Regions from separate parts of the Homo sapiens genome. Here region 2 is linked to region 1. Evidence: promoter capture Hi-C in human tissues and cell types (Jung and others, 2019). All regions are on one chromosome and are shown on one strand. The core of a region is centred on a gene start or on the middle of the fragment in contact, and the rest is flanking DNA. Distances in the headings are between cores, read along the strand shown. Region 1 holds the start of PCGF3 (polycomb group ring finger 3). Region 2 holds the start of MAEA (macrophage erythroblast attacher, E3 ubiquitin ligase).

Region 1 (6,913 bases), core at 495-2,994:
GGGCTCTTGTGGAGGGCCAGCACCCCAGTACCCCAATCCCAGGCAGCCCTCTCCAGTGGGCCCCTCCCCTGCACTGGGCCACCCCATGGCTCCACGGAGCCCTCCCTGCCTCCCCTCCCCCGGGGGCAGCAGTGGCCACATTTAGTCCCTCCCCTTCACAGCAGCATGCCTGGGAATGCTGTACACATTCACATGTCTGCTGTCTGTCCTCCTCCCACCCGGATAACGTGTCCACCCAGTGCTGGAGATCTCAGCAGGCCCCCAGCCCTTCTCAGGCCCCTCTCAGCAGCGGACTCAAGCCGCTTCCCCACGTGCTGCACCATACCTGGGCCCGGGGCCCCCTGCCTGGTGGCTGCTCCCGGGGTCCAACTCTAGACTTCACGGGGACAGTCGCAGGGTCACTCCCTCAGCCACCACCTCTCCAGACGGGACGAGCTAATGACTCCCGACTCCTGCTCCATGCCTGCACCGCACAGCCTCGCAGCGAGTGCCCCTGGGCCTACGGGGCCTCCCCTCTCGCCACCAAGCCTCCACACTGCGCGGTGCCCCGCCGCCCGGAACCACAGTGGTCTCGCTTCCCACCCAAGACCCAACCTGCCCTCCCGTCCTGGGCCGCCAGCCCAGAACCCGCAAACCGGGAGACCCTAGGACCCCGCGTGCCTGCACGTCCGCCTCACCCCCGCACGCGCCCTCGGTCCTCGGATCCCGCCCTCTCAGGACAGTGCCAGTCCCACGAAGGCGCAAATGCCGCCCGTACTGCTCCACCCTGGCGGAGGGCACCCAGGTCGGAGAGTCCGCACGTGGGTGCCCTGTCCGTCCTGATGCTGAACATAACCTAAATACAAGCCTAAACATGACCAGACCCGAACCCCTGACCCTGACCCCACCCCTAATCCTGACCCTAACCCTAAACCCAACCCTAACCCTAAACCTAACCCCTAACTCTGACCCTACCCCTAATCCTGACCCTAACCGTAAAACCAACCCTAACCCTAACCCCTAATGCTGACCCTAACCCTAAATCCAGTCCTAACCCTGACTCTAACCCTAACCCTGACCCTAACCCTAAAACCCAACCCTAACCCTAACCCTGACCCTAACCCTAAACCCAACCCTAACCCTAGACCAGACCCTAACCCCTGACCCTGACCCCACCCCTAATCCTGACCCTAACCATAAACCCAACCCTAACCCTAACCCCTAATGCTGACCCTAGCCCTAAACCCAGTCCTAACCCTGACTCTAACCCCTAACCCTGACCCTAAACCTAAACCCAACCCTAACCCTGACTCTGACCCCTAACCCGACCCCTGACCCTAACACCGACCCTTAACCCTGCCGGGAGGGCGCTCAGTCCCGGCTCCCACAAAGGACAGCAGCACCCGTACTGGACGGCACCCCCGGAGGGACCCGGGCCTGAGGACTCTGCTGCTCCAGCGCCCCAGCTCACGATCGTCCAGGACCCGTCGGGTCCCTCAGCACAGCGCGGCCCTGTCGCTCTCCTGACCACGCCCCTCATGGCCCCGCCCTATGCCTCGCCCCTGGCCCTCGCGCCCCGCGGCTCCCTCCGCCGAGTCCAGGCCCGACGCGCCTGCGCCCTCTGAACACGCCCCTCCCCGCCCCTATCCCCACCCCTTACCGCCTGGCCCCGCCCACGCCCCTTGCCGCGGGGTGGGAGCCCAGACGCACACCGCGCATGCTCCGAGCGCGGCGCCCCCGACGCGGCGCTCGGCTCGGCTCGGGCATTTCCGCCTCTTTGTTTTAAACTCCGGACGGGCTTTTTTCTCCTCCTCTTGGGGGGGACCCAGAGGGAGCGGCGCCCCCTCCCCCCTCCGGCGCGGACCCCGCGTGCGCCTTGCTCGCCCGCAGCCCCGAGACCGCAGGTCAGTGAGTCCGCCCCGCCTGGCCTGGGCCCTCGGCGCCCGCTCCTCAGGCTGCGGCCTCGGCCCGTGTCCGGCCCGGAAGGCTCCGAACCCCGGGCCCGCGCTCCGTCGTCCCCGTCGGCCTGGCCCGGGAAGCCCTTGGCAGGCCCGGGAGGGCCGGCACCCCAGCCCAGTCAGGACTCCGGGAGGTCGAAGACCCCAGCCCAGGCAGGACTCCGGGAGGGCCAAGAGCCCAGCCCAGGCAGGACCCCGGGAGGGCTGGGACTCCAGCCTAGGCAGGACGCAGGGAGGGCAAGACCCCAGCCCAGGCAGGACTCCGGGAGGTCGAAGACCCCAGCCCAGGCAGGACCCAGGGAGGGCTGGGACAGCAGCCCAGGCAGGACGCAGGGAGGGCAAGACCCCAGTCCAGGCAGGACGCAGGGAGGGCAAGACCCCAGCCCAGGCAGGACTCCGGGAGGTCGAAGACCCCAGCCCAGGCAGGACCCAGGGAGGGCAAAGACCCCAGAACAGGGAGGGCCAAGACCCCAGACCAGGCAGGACCCCGGGAGGGCCAAGACCCCAGACCAGGCAGGACCCAGGGAGGGCGAAGACCCCAGCCCAGGCAGGACCGCGGGAGGGCAGGGACCCCAGACCAGGCAGGACCCCGGGAGGGCCAAGACCCCAGACCAGGCAGGACCCAGGGAGGGCGAAGACCCCAGCCCAGGCAGGACCGCGGGAGGGCAGGGACCCCAGACCAGGCAGGACCCTGGGAAGGTCGCGACCCCAGCCCAGGCAGGACCCAGGGAGGGCGAAGACCCCAGACCAGGCAGGACCCAGGTGAGGGCGAAGACCCCAGCCCAGGCAGGACCGCGGGAGGGCAGGGACCCCAGACCAGGCAGGACCCTGGGAAGGTCGCGACCCCAGCCCAGGCAGGACCCAGGGAGGGCGAAGACCCCAGACCAGGCAGGACCCAGGTGAGGGCAAAGACCCCAGCCCAGGCAGGACCGCGGGAGGGTAGGGACCCCAGCCCAGGCAGGACCCTGGGAAGGTCGCGACCCCAGCCCAGGCAGGACCCCGGGAGGGCTGGGTCTTCAGACCAGGCAGGACCTGAAGAGAGTTGGGCTCTGGGATTGCACAGGACCCCCAGAGTGCTAGGACACAATGACACATCATCCAGGAGGGTCTGACCCTGGGACAGGTCACCGAGAAGGGCTGGGACCCCAAGATGGGTCACCAAGGAGGGTCGGACCTGGCCACCTGGCAGGGCCCGGGGGGGCTAGGACCCTGGGAAGAATCACGGAGGAGGGCCAGACGTAGGGACCAGGCAGAATCCAAAGAATGCCAGGACCCCAGAATAGATCCCCCAGGAAGGTCCTGCCTTAAAGTGGGTCACAGACGAGGGCCAGGACCCCATGACCATAATTCAGGAGGACCTGACCCTGGAGCAGTCTTGTGAGTCCTGTGAGCACTGCTGGGACCCTGAGACTGCCCCGTCTCCCCCGGGACCCTGAGACAGCCCTGTTTTCCCCTGGGGGCCGGGACCCTGGGACAGCCTGTTTTCACCCGGGGGCCGGGACCCTGGGACAGCCCTGTTTTCCCCTGGGGGTCGGGACCCTGGGACAGCTCTGTTTTCCCCTGGGGGTCGGGACTCTGGGACAGCTCTGTTTTCCCCTGGGGGTCGGGACCCTGGGACAGCCCTGTTTTCCCCTGGGGGTCGGGACCCTGGGACAGCTCTGTTTTCCCCTGGGGGCCGGGACCCTGAGACAGCTCTGTTTTCACCTGGGGGCCGGGACCCTGAGACAGCTCTGTTTTCACCTGGGGGCCGGGACCCTGGGACAGCTCTGTTTTCCCCTGGGGGCCGGGACCCTGGGACAGCCCTGTTTTCCCCTGGGGGTCGGGACCCTGGGACAGCCCTGTTTTCACCTGGGGGTCGGGACCCTGAGACAGCCCTGTTTTCCCCTGGGGGTCGGGACCCTGGGACAGCCCTGTTTTCCCCTGGGGGCCGGGACCCTGGGACAGCCCTGTTTTCCCCTGGGGGTCGGGACCCTGGGACAGCCCTGTTTTCCCCTGGGGGCCGGGACCCTGGGACAGCCCTGTTTTCACCTGGGGGCCGGGACCCTGGGACAGCCCTGTTTTCACCTGGGGGCCGGGACCCTGAGACAGCCCTGTTTTCTCCCAGGGCCCGGCACCCTGAGACTGGACAGTGAGAAGGGCTCATGACATGGACAGGCTTCTAGATGACCAGGACCTCAAACGGGGTCACTTAGGGTCGGGACACTGGTGTGGACTGGGAAGAAGGCTAGGCTCTCAAAGAGGACCTGATGAGAGCTGGAACTTCCAGACAGGTCCTCAGAGGGCTGGGACTCCTGAACAAGTCACTGAGGAGCATGTAGGCCCCAAGACTGGACTGTAAGGAGTACTGGGACCCTCGGGGGGGAATCCAGCAGTGTCCTGAATCTGCCCAGTCCACTCAGCTGGATGCACCTGCTGTGAAGGCCAGGCATCTGGCATCCTGGTACCCGAGGCCCTTTCCATGAGACCCTGGGCCAGCCCCACAGCCCCTGCACATGAACCGCCTAGGTGATACCTGGGGTAGGTATGAGGCAGGGGCCTCAGGGTTCCAGGAGCTCCCAGCCCACAGGCTCCACACCTCAGGCTGGCACTGCACCCTCCCACTCAGCCCCTCGTCCGGGGCTGCTGTCCTGTCCTTGCCTTGGCTGTGGTCCGTGTCCAGCACCTTCAACCCCTCCTGCCCCTCTCCCCATCTTCAAGGTCATGTGAGTGCCCCACTTCCTCAGTGTAGAGGCGTTTCCAGTGTCCGGGAGACTTGGAGGAGGGGTGGGGTCTGAGCTGGGATGTGGACTCCTGGGCATATTTTGGGGACAGTTGGTCCAAGTCAGGAAAGTTGGAGCAGGCAAGGCTATTTCCCACTCCCTCTCTAGTAAGGGAAGGAATTAAAGGATCCTGGTGGTGATCGGGCTGGGGACGGGGGTTGGTTTATTTCTCTGAAACCTTTGAATCAGCCTTTTATCAAAAACTTGTGGGTGTTTTCCTTTAATTTGGAAGTGGTAATGAAAAAGTGGGGTGCATGAGGTATTCAGAAGCGAGCGGTCTATGCTGTCCTTTGACTAGGGAAGGGTTGTCTAGTGACATCTTGTCAGGGGTGTTTCCAGAGGGTGGTCATCCCAGGAACCCTGCTCCCAGAGGGTGCCGTGTGGCTGCTTGGTGTGCCGTACATTCCCCAAAAGAGTGAATGATGCATGAACGAATGAAAGGCAAGAGTGAATGATGCATGAACAAATGAATGAAAGGCAAGAGTGAATGATGCATGAACAAATGAATGAAAGGCAAGAGTGAATGATGCATGAACAAATGAATGAAAGGCAAGAGTGAATGATGCATGAACAAATGAATGAAAGGCAAGAGTGAATGATGCATGAACACATGAATGAAAGGCAAGAGTGAATGATGCATGAACAAATGAATGAAAGGCAAGAGTGAATGATCCATGAGCAAATGAATGAAAGGCAAGCGTGAATGATCCATGAACAAATGAATGAAAGGCAAGAGTGAATGATGTATGAACAAATGAATGAAAGGCAAGAGTGAGTGATGCATGAACAAATGAATGAAAGGCAGGGCCGCTCTTCAGAGACATCCCCTCGGATTAGGCGTGCGGGCTTGCCTGGAAGTTGGGCAGTACAATGAGGTGTAACCCTAAAACTCTGAGCTATCTAGACTCCCAAGAGAGACACTGAATTGGATGGTTCGGGATTTCATCTTTGCCACAGCTTCACTTCTTGGTTACTTAGGAGAAAACCGTGTTAGGTTTTCAGCTTAACATTTCAGGGTACTCAGTGTCAGCCACGTCGTGTCCCTGCGTGGTCAGCCTGGACCTAGAAGCTCTTACTCGCCCAGTGTAACCGCCAGGGACCTTTTTACTCAACACTTCCTTCTGATTTGCTCTTTTGACATATCCTTTACTGTTTTTTAAACTTCATTTGCTTTGTGAAATTGTGGAAGAGGCTTGTGAAGCTGAGTGTTCAGGTTTGTTTGGCTCTGTACTGTCTGGTTCCCAGGCTTTTAGAGGTGTGTTTTAGAGGTGTTTTTAGGCCGTGCTGAGTGGTTGTATTATTTATATATTGCTGTGTGGCAGATTACCCCAGAACCCCTGCCTTAAACCAACAGTCCGATGATAACTTACTGTTTCTGTGGGTTGGGAGACCAGGTGGGCTCTGGCTCAGGGACCTCCCATCTGGGGTTGTGTCTCCTCTGAAGGCTGGACTGGGGAGGGTCCGCAGCCAGGCTGTGTCACGTGACTGTGGGCTGGAGACCTCAGTTCCTTTCTCTATAGGGCAGCTCCGAGGGAGCCCATGCCTAGCCAGAGAGGGACAGGAAGGACGTCCCAGTGTTTGTGGAGTGACATTCTACCACTTTTGCCAAGAGTCATTCGGCCCCTACACACTTGAGGGGAGGGGACTCCAAAACGGTGAGCATACGATGGGCAGGTGGGGTCACTGGAACACTTAAAGCCTGCCCAGCACAGCGGTGCTGTGAGCCTGGCACCTCTCAGGGCACTGGAGAGACATCCCGTAAGTAAATCAGCGATTGCGTGTGGAGTGACGTGTTAAGATGAGGATGTGACTGTTCAGCTGTCTCTTTAATTGGTGTGGGTTTCTCCGATGTCACCGTCATGATTGAGATATTTGTGATACGTAAAAGAAGATAAATTACAGATAGAAAAGATTCTTAGGAATTAACTTGCAATTTGGCATACCAGTAGCAAGCCAAAAGACCCCCCCACAAATTAAATTACAAGGTGTGTGTCACTGATGTCAAATCCTTCCCAACAGCTTCAAGTGCAAGGATTTTTGCTGTTCCCAGAGTCCCCTCATTTTCTTCCTGCCAGTGATTTTGCTCCAGAAATTATCAACCGACTTCTGTTAAGTTTTCCTAAACCATTTTAAATATATGGGGGAAATGTTTTTACCAGTTACAGTAGACCTTGCGCTTGCAGTTATTTGTGACTTCATAAAAATGCCGTAGGAGAC
Region 2 (6,893 bases), core at 881-3,380, 580 kb after region 1:
AGTAGAGACAGGGTTTTACCATGTTGGCCAGGATAGTCTTGATCTCTGACCTCGTGATCCGCCCGCCTCGGCCTCCCAAAGTGCTGGGATTACAGGCGTGAGCCACAGCACCCGGCCAAGTCTAGCAGCTTTTTAAGATCTAGATATGAAACATTTGCCATCTATTGCTTCTAATGGTGGCCACCTATGAGGCTTCATCTATGTAATAAGAACGTTGGTCTCCACAACCCCTTTTAACCCAGATGCTCCTTTCTCTCGATTCCAGATCTTTAGATAAGCACTCTTTCAACCAAATGCCAATCAGAAAATCTTTGAATCCACCTGTGAGCTGGAAGCCCCGCTGTGCTTTGTGTTGTCCTGCCTTTTCGGACCAATGTAAATCTCACATGTACTGATTGATGCCTACATCTCCTTAAAACGTATAAAATCAAGCTGTAACCCAACCACCTTGGGCATGTGTTCTGAGGACCTCTTGAGGCTGTGTCACTGGTCATGATCCTTAACCTTGGCAACATAAACTTCTAAACTGATTGAGATCTGTCTCAGACACTTTTTGGTTTACAAAAGGACTAATTCAAATACAGTTTTATCTTCCAACATAAGAAAACCTAGAATGAATGACTCAAAGGTTGTAGAGGGTTAAACAACCTCTCCAACGTGCAAACCTCTGCCTTATAATTCCTAAGTATTTCTGACTGTAGATGGTACTAGGATAGGATCATTTTACCATGGAAATGAAACCCGTGTCCTTTCCTTTGGGTTAATCTTGAATCCCTGGTGAAGTGAAGGCAGTCTCTAAGAGGAGTGCAGTCCATCCAACTGCTGCAGTGCTCCTGTGTACTACTGGGACCATCCCGGAGAGTGGCAGACACGATGCGAACCGTGAAAGGACGCAAAGAGTACAGAGTGCATGCTTCCATCTCTATAGGAAGGTCAGGAACGCTGTTACGGGGAGCAGGGTTAGAATGATGGGGATATAGCCCGGGAAGGGGCAGAGGAGCTTTCTGTGCCACGGGAAATGTCCTAAATCTCAACCAGGACACGGTTAGATAAAAGTGCAAATATGGGTGAAAATTCATTAAAGCTGTATAGTTAAGATTTGTGCACCTCACTGTAAAACTTACTTCAAATGTCTAAAAGACTGGAGTCTGCAGCCACACACTTGAGGAATAACACTTTCCTTAGTCCCAACTCCTGTTTAAGTAAGACAGAGAAAGATTCCACAGTGCGGGTCGGATGTCTTGCGGCTGTAACATGTAGCAGCCTCCAAGCGGAGGTTCTCCCTTCATCGCTGTGTCACCTTAGATGTTTTTCCTTTGTTTAAACACCAAATATTTTAAAAGTTGTTTAGAAATGTGTTATGTGAAACACAAGGTGGTTTAATTGGGACGTCATTTCCTAATTAATAAAATCTAATTTCAGTTTTATTTTGGAAAGGAGGGAGACGGGTGGTGTTTGAAAGGCTGAGAATGTGAAGTGGCTGAAATGAAGGCAGCGCACGACCTGGATGCCAGCGCTGCCCGCCCTGCAAGGAGAGGGCGGAGAGGCCACACGCTTCTCATGCTTCGGGAGTTTCTGTCCATAAATCAGTTTTAGGTACTGGGCCTTTCCTCTTCCGTTGGGAAGTCGGAGGTTCCACATCAGGATTCCAGCAGCTGTAAATCGGTCAAAATAAGGCCAAAGAAAAATAGCTGGCTACAGGCGCATGCGGCCAGGCGTTTTGTTGGCGTTGCCCTTGGTACCGCAGGCACGAGGGACCCACAGGGGACCACCCCGCGGGAGCCCCAAGTAACTGGACGGACGCCAAGTCCCCCAGCCCGCTCGGCCCCAGCTCCACCCGCCCGGGCCGCAGCCCGCACCCCATCGGCCCGCCCCGGGCCAGGAGCATCCCCAGCTCCGGCGTCTGCGGCCTGAACCCGGTAGCGAATTCAAGGTGGAAACCGCCAGCCGGGGCTATCGTTGATTGGCTGAACGAGAGGAAACCCGGCAGTGATTGGTTCGCGCCTTCTTCCGCCTCCGGCCGACTGGGCGGATACGATTGGTGCAGGGGCATCGGCCCGCCCCCATCCTGCTCCGGCCGGCGCGTGGCGTCATTTCCCGGCGTGCAGCGCGCTCGCGCGTCCCCCGCCCGCTAATGTTTTGGCCGCTTCAAGATGGCGGTGCAGGAGTCGGCGGCTCAGTTGTCCATGACCCTGAAGGTCCAGGAGTACCCGACCCTCAAGGTGGGCGCCTGCGCCGCGCAGGCTGAGGGCAGCGAAGGCGTCTCCAGCCAGTGCCCTCGGGCCGCGAGGGGCCGCCCCGGGAGGGCCAGCGGCGAGGGCGGCGGGAGCTGGGCGCGGCCTCGCGGGGCCGTGCGGGCTTCTCAGGGGCGCCCGGTCCGCGCCGGGCAGGTGTGGCGGGGGCGGCGGCTTTGGCCCTGCCAGGCGCCCGACTGTGGCCCCTCTGCTTGAAGAGCTGCGTGAGCCGAGCCAGCGACGACTCTGGCAGCGCTAAGGGTGGCGAATTTGGGGCTGGGGTGGAAGCCGGAGTTTGCGGGGCGTGGGGTCTCTGGCGCCCAGGCAGACGGAGTGCGCGGCGTGCCCAGCCAGTGCCCGGCCGCCCTCCCGGGAGCCCAGGGCTGGGAGGTGCCGGCTGCGCCGGTCGCTAGTTAGGAACTGTAGGGAGAAACCTCACGGCCTGATGGCACCCAGCGACCTTTTTGATGGGCGTCACCAAACCTGAAATACAGCTCTTGCCGTCCGGCTGCCGGTTGCGTGACCTTGGGTGGTCACCTAGCCACGTCGCACTTCTTAGAATGAAATTTGTGCTCCTAGTAGAAGGAGCCGATACTTGTTCTTTACCTAGTTAGTAGAGGATTTGATATGAAGCACCTGGGAAGGAATTCCTTAAAAGATCAAGGTCATAGCTTTCCTAGAGCTGCGGCTGAGCTTCGTGGTTCTGTGTTGCCTTCCTGGAGAGCTGCGTAGTTTCTCTCTCCTCCCAGAGCGCCCTGGTGTTCACGTCCGTCTGAGGACGGACGGTGTGGCGACAGGTGTGGAGGATGCAGTATGGCCAGGTTGCTGTGCGTTCCCCCAGCCCCAGGGCAGTTCAGCGAAGGGCTGAAGAGCACAGGCTGTGAGCCATCCTGCTGGGGTGTGAATCAGGCTTCTCTGTATTCGTCCTTACTGGGAGACATCAGGGCCCGGTTGGTGACTGTTTATTCTTGTCAGGTTTAAGCAGTGGTAGCGCCTGTGTCACCTCAGGGTGAAATGAGTGACCACGTATTGTTTCAAACAGTGCCTAGCATTCATTAAAAGGTCCCTGCTACAGTTAGCGCTGCTGAAGTCAGGCTGTACCCTGCTGTAGCTGGTCTTCATAGGAAAGCAGAAGCAAGCTTCTCCTCCTCTTTATTAACTAGCGGTTTATTTCATATTTTTAAAAAGAAACGGGGTTTCACTGTTGCCTAGGGTGGTTTTGGATTCCAGGACTTAAGCGATCCTCCTGCCTTTTGACCTCCCAAAGCGCTGGGCTGACAGGTGTGAGCCACGCGCCCGCCACACTAATGGTTTCGCAGTGGGGTTTCATGGTGCTTGTGTGTCCAGCACTTCTTTTGATCAAGGAAGGGAGGGCAATGTTGCTGACGTTACCAAAGGTCTAGCCTCTTGCTAGATCCCTCCAAGATGTAGGTGGTTGGTTTTTAATACTCAGTGACATTGGTGGATCTCTGTTGGTTTAGAGATGGAGACCCTGCAGCTGAGAGAAGTCTATACAAGGACATTGTGGTGATATTAGTAGGGAGTCCTAACCACTGACCACTTTGTCTCACGCAGTGCACCTCCAGGCCTGTCATTTCAGCTAACACACAAGAAGGTTTGAAGATCAGAACCGTGGTGGTTTGTCACTTCTGGTACTGGCTGGTGAATGTGGGAAACACTAGATAGGAAAAGTTTCCAGAAATCCTTTCATTGTGTATTGAAGGAACTAGGAAGGGAGATGGAAGGTCTCCGGAAAGGATTCTTCTTCAGGTCTTCTGCTGTTTTGTAATCGTGAATGTAATTTGTATTCCAGAGTGATTGCATAGCTTCTGATTAAAATAGTCATGCAGATAGTCATACAGGTAAAGAAATATTATAGTGTCATAATTTCTCTGTTGACACTTGTGTCACTACTGAGTTAAAACTTTTTTTCATAGAAGTTTTCAGGAGTGATTCCTAGTGGATAATGGAGGTGTTTTGCTGGGAAACTAGGGATCCTTGATTTAGAAGCATTTATTGGTATAGAACTAAACAGAACATGCTGAGCTCACAGCTCAAGAGCTGCACTCTTCAGTTTCCAGGAGGGGCCAGTGCAGATGTCAGAGAAGGGACCGAGGGCTGCAGGACCGGGGTTGTGGAAGGTGGGGGGTGGATGTTCTGCTTCTCTAGTCTGAGAGCAAGTCCTCCTGCAGGGTGGTAGCAGCTGGCATGCTCTGGACTGGATCTTCACCTGGTAATAGTTAAACTGCTTTCCTGCCATGTGAGTCCTCCACAGACTCACAGGGGATTCCTTTCTCTTCAGAGGGCTTGGTAGCCCTAGGTGGGTTTCAGCAGTAACACTTGGGATGTCTGCTTCCTCACAGCGTCAGGGCGGCTGGTGGGGCTCCTGGGTGCCTGGCAGGTACTTATTTTTCTATTTTCCTGGTGAAGTGGGAAGAGAATGGAACAGACGTGAATTGCTGCAGCCAACACGCACTGACCTTGGGCACCTCTGTCGTCATGAGCTTCTATTTCCACCAAAGGGGTGGACCGGCCTGCGAACGTTTGGGCTGGAGGAGCCTTTGTCGGTGGTGGGGGCTGTGCAGTCTAGGATGTCTAGCAGCATCCCTGGTGTCTGCCTGCCAGATGCCAAGAGCATGCCCCCAAAATGTCTTCAGACATTGCTAGATGTGCCCTGGGGGCATGCACACACCCCTGAGAATTGCTGGGCTGGATCCTGCTTTAAGGGACTTGTTTCTTCCTCTTACCAAACGGAGGTGTGGCTCATGAGGACTCAGCCTTGCGTCCTGGCTGTGGCTGTGTCTTTTTGCTGTCAAATGCTGTGAACGCCGTCCGGTGTAGGGTGGTGGGTAATGCCTTGTGGGGGAGGGGAAAGATGAATAACTCACCATCTTTTTTTTTTTTTTTTTTCTTTTTTGAGACGGAGTCTCACTCTGTTGCCCAGGCTGGAGCGCGGTGGCACAATCTCAGCTCACTGCAACCTCTGCCTCCCAGATTCAAGCAATTCTCCTACCTCAGCCTCCCGAGTAGCTGAGATTACAGGCACCCGCCACCATGCCCAGCTAATTTTTTGTATTTTTTAGTAGAGACGTGGTTTCTCCATGTTGTCCAGCTGGTCTTGAACTCCTGACCTCAGGAATTCACCATCTTTCAATTCAACATGCATAGTTCACCATCTTGAATTGGAAGCCCTTGCTTTCATTATTTTGTAAAAGGTTTTTTTTTTTCTGATTATAAAAGTAATTTGATGAGTTGGGTGCGGTGGTGTGCGCCTGTAGTCCCAGCTAATTGGGAGGCTGAGGCGAGAGGATCACTTGAGCCAGGAGATCCAGGCTGTGGTGAACCGAGATTGCACCACTGCCCTCCAGCCTGGGTGACAGAGTGAGACCCTGTCTCAAATAATAAATAAATAAAAGTAATTTGTTTTTTCTTCAAGTTACCCTGCTGCACAGAGAGAACTTCATTAACATTTTGGTGTATTTACTCCTACTATTTCCCTTCAGATAGCCGAAGAAAAATAATAGTTTAGAGAATTTCACATGGGTGTCTGCACAGCCCAGGGCGGGAAGTGGTGTTCATCACCTGGAGACCCTGGTCTGGACCTGGCTCCTCTCTGTGAACCCCACCTGGGCCCACCTCTCCTCTCCTGGAGCCCCAGCAAGGGTTCCCAGCTCCAGTGAGTCCTCTCACACCCAAGGTGGTGATGCTGTCCTCTCCCCAGAGGACAGGCTGAGAAACACCGGGCTTGTGGTTGCATTCTCAGGTGTCTGAATTCTCTACAGGAAGATTTGCATGTTCTGCCTTTGGTTTGATGACAGTCTGGTTGCCCAGGCATGGCCCTGATGCCTCACAGCCTGGGTCTGTGCCTGTGGTAGGGAGTTCGGGTGCCAGCTGTGTGCTGAAGTTGTAACTGCTCCTGCGCCTTTTGTAGTTTTCTTCACTCCATCTTGGCTGGATTTGGGAGGATCATGTGTTCTCGAGTGTGAGAAACACAGGCAACCACGAAGCGTTTGACTTACTGACACACACATTGGGTTGGACCCTGGTGATGCCGTGTCTGAGGAGTCTTAGGCCGGGTCTCCACCTCTTCTGTGGCCGGCTTTTTCGATGTACTTTATCTGCAGTAACGTCACAGCCCTCCAGAATCCGCCCGGTCTCTAGAGCACAGTGGAAATTCCTTCTGCCCAGAAGAGCCATGGTCTGCCCTTTGTGGCTCCCAGCTCCACTCCCCTCGCCTCTCCCACCGTTTGCTGGTGGTTTGGCCCTGGGCTGGCTTCCGCGGCCTCCGCGCTGGCACAGGTCTTCCCTCCCAGGCCTGGGCCTTTCCAGCTGGTTGGGCAAGGCTGAGATAAGGATGTAGACTTGAATTCACTGCTAGCTGGGGGGTTGGTTTTGTTTTTGTTTTTTTAAGTATTATTTTTTTAACACATTTCAAGTCAAGAAAGTGCTTTTTAATGCCTGATTCACCGTAATGGCTGGGCTAGGTTGGAGGCAGTACTGACGTGAGGCCTGGAGCGGCCCTGGGACCTAAGCAAGGCACCGCCGCCGGGCTGCAGAGCAGGGCTGCAGGTGCACTTAGCTTCTCCCATACCCCCCTCCGCAGCAGTGGTCTGAGAGCCTCCATCGGCCAGGTACGGTCAGGCCCTGCACAGTCAGGCC

The links. The method cuts DNA at HindIII sites, captures the fragments that hold promoters and counts their contacts. A contact is called where the count stands out against the background at its distance.
Region 2: a contact is called between the fragment with the promoter of MAEA here and the fragment with the promoter of PCGF3 in region 1, in 1 of the 25 tissues and cell types used here (lymphoblastoid cells).

The regions. Positions count from the first base shown.
Region 1 is chr4:704,088-711,000 of GRCh38, forward strand. It overlaps PCGF3 (polycomb group ring finger 3), which reads left to right and starts at 1,745. Exons shown (of 11, transcript NM_006315.7): 1 at 1,745-1,883. RefSeq lists enhancers at 1-492, 1,533-2,518, 2,519-3,503 and a silencer at 1,468-2,167. The HindIII fragment of the contact is 34,476 bases long and covers 1-6,913 here.
Region 2 is chr4:1,287,761-1,294,653 of GRCh38, forward strand. MAEA (macrophage erythroblast attacher, E3 ubiquitin ligase) reads left to right here and starts at 2,131. Exons shown (of 9, transcript NM_001017405.3): 1 at 2,131-2,222. The coding sequence starts at 2,154. It overlaps LOC105374347 (a long non-coding RNA gene), which reads right to left and starts at 1,811. Exons shown (of 3, transcript XR_925046.3): 1 at 1,125-1,811. It overlaps LOC105374346 (a long non-coding RNA gene), which reads left to right. Exons shown (of 2, transcript XR_925043.3): 2 at 266-534. RefSeq lists silencers at 1,652-2,061, 2,162-2,441, 3,530-3,712. The HindIII fragment of the contact is 22,633 bases long and covers 1-6,893 here.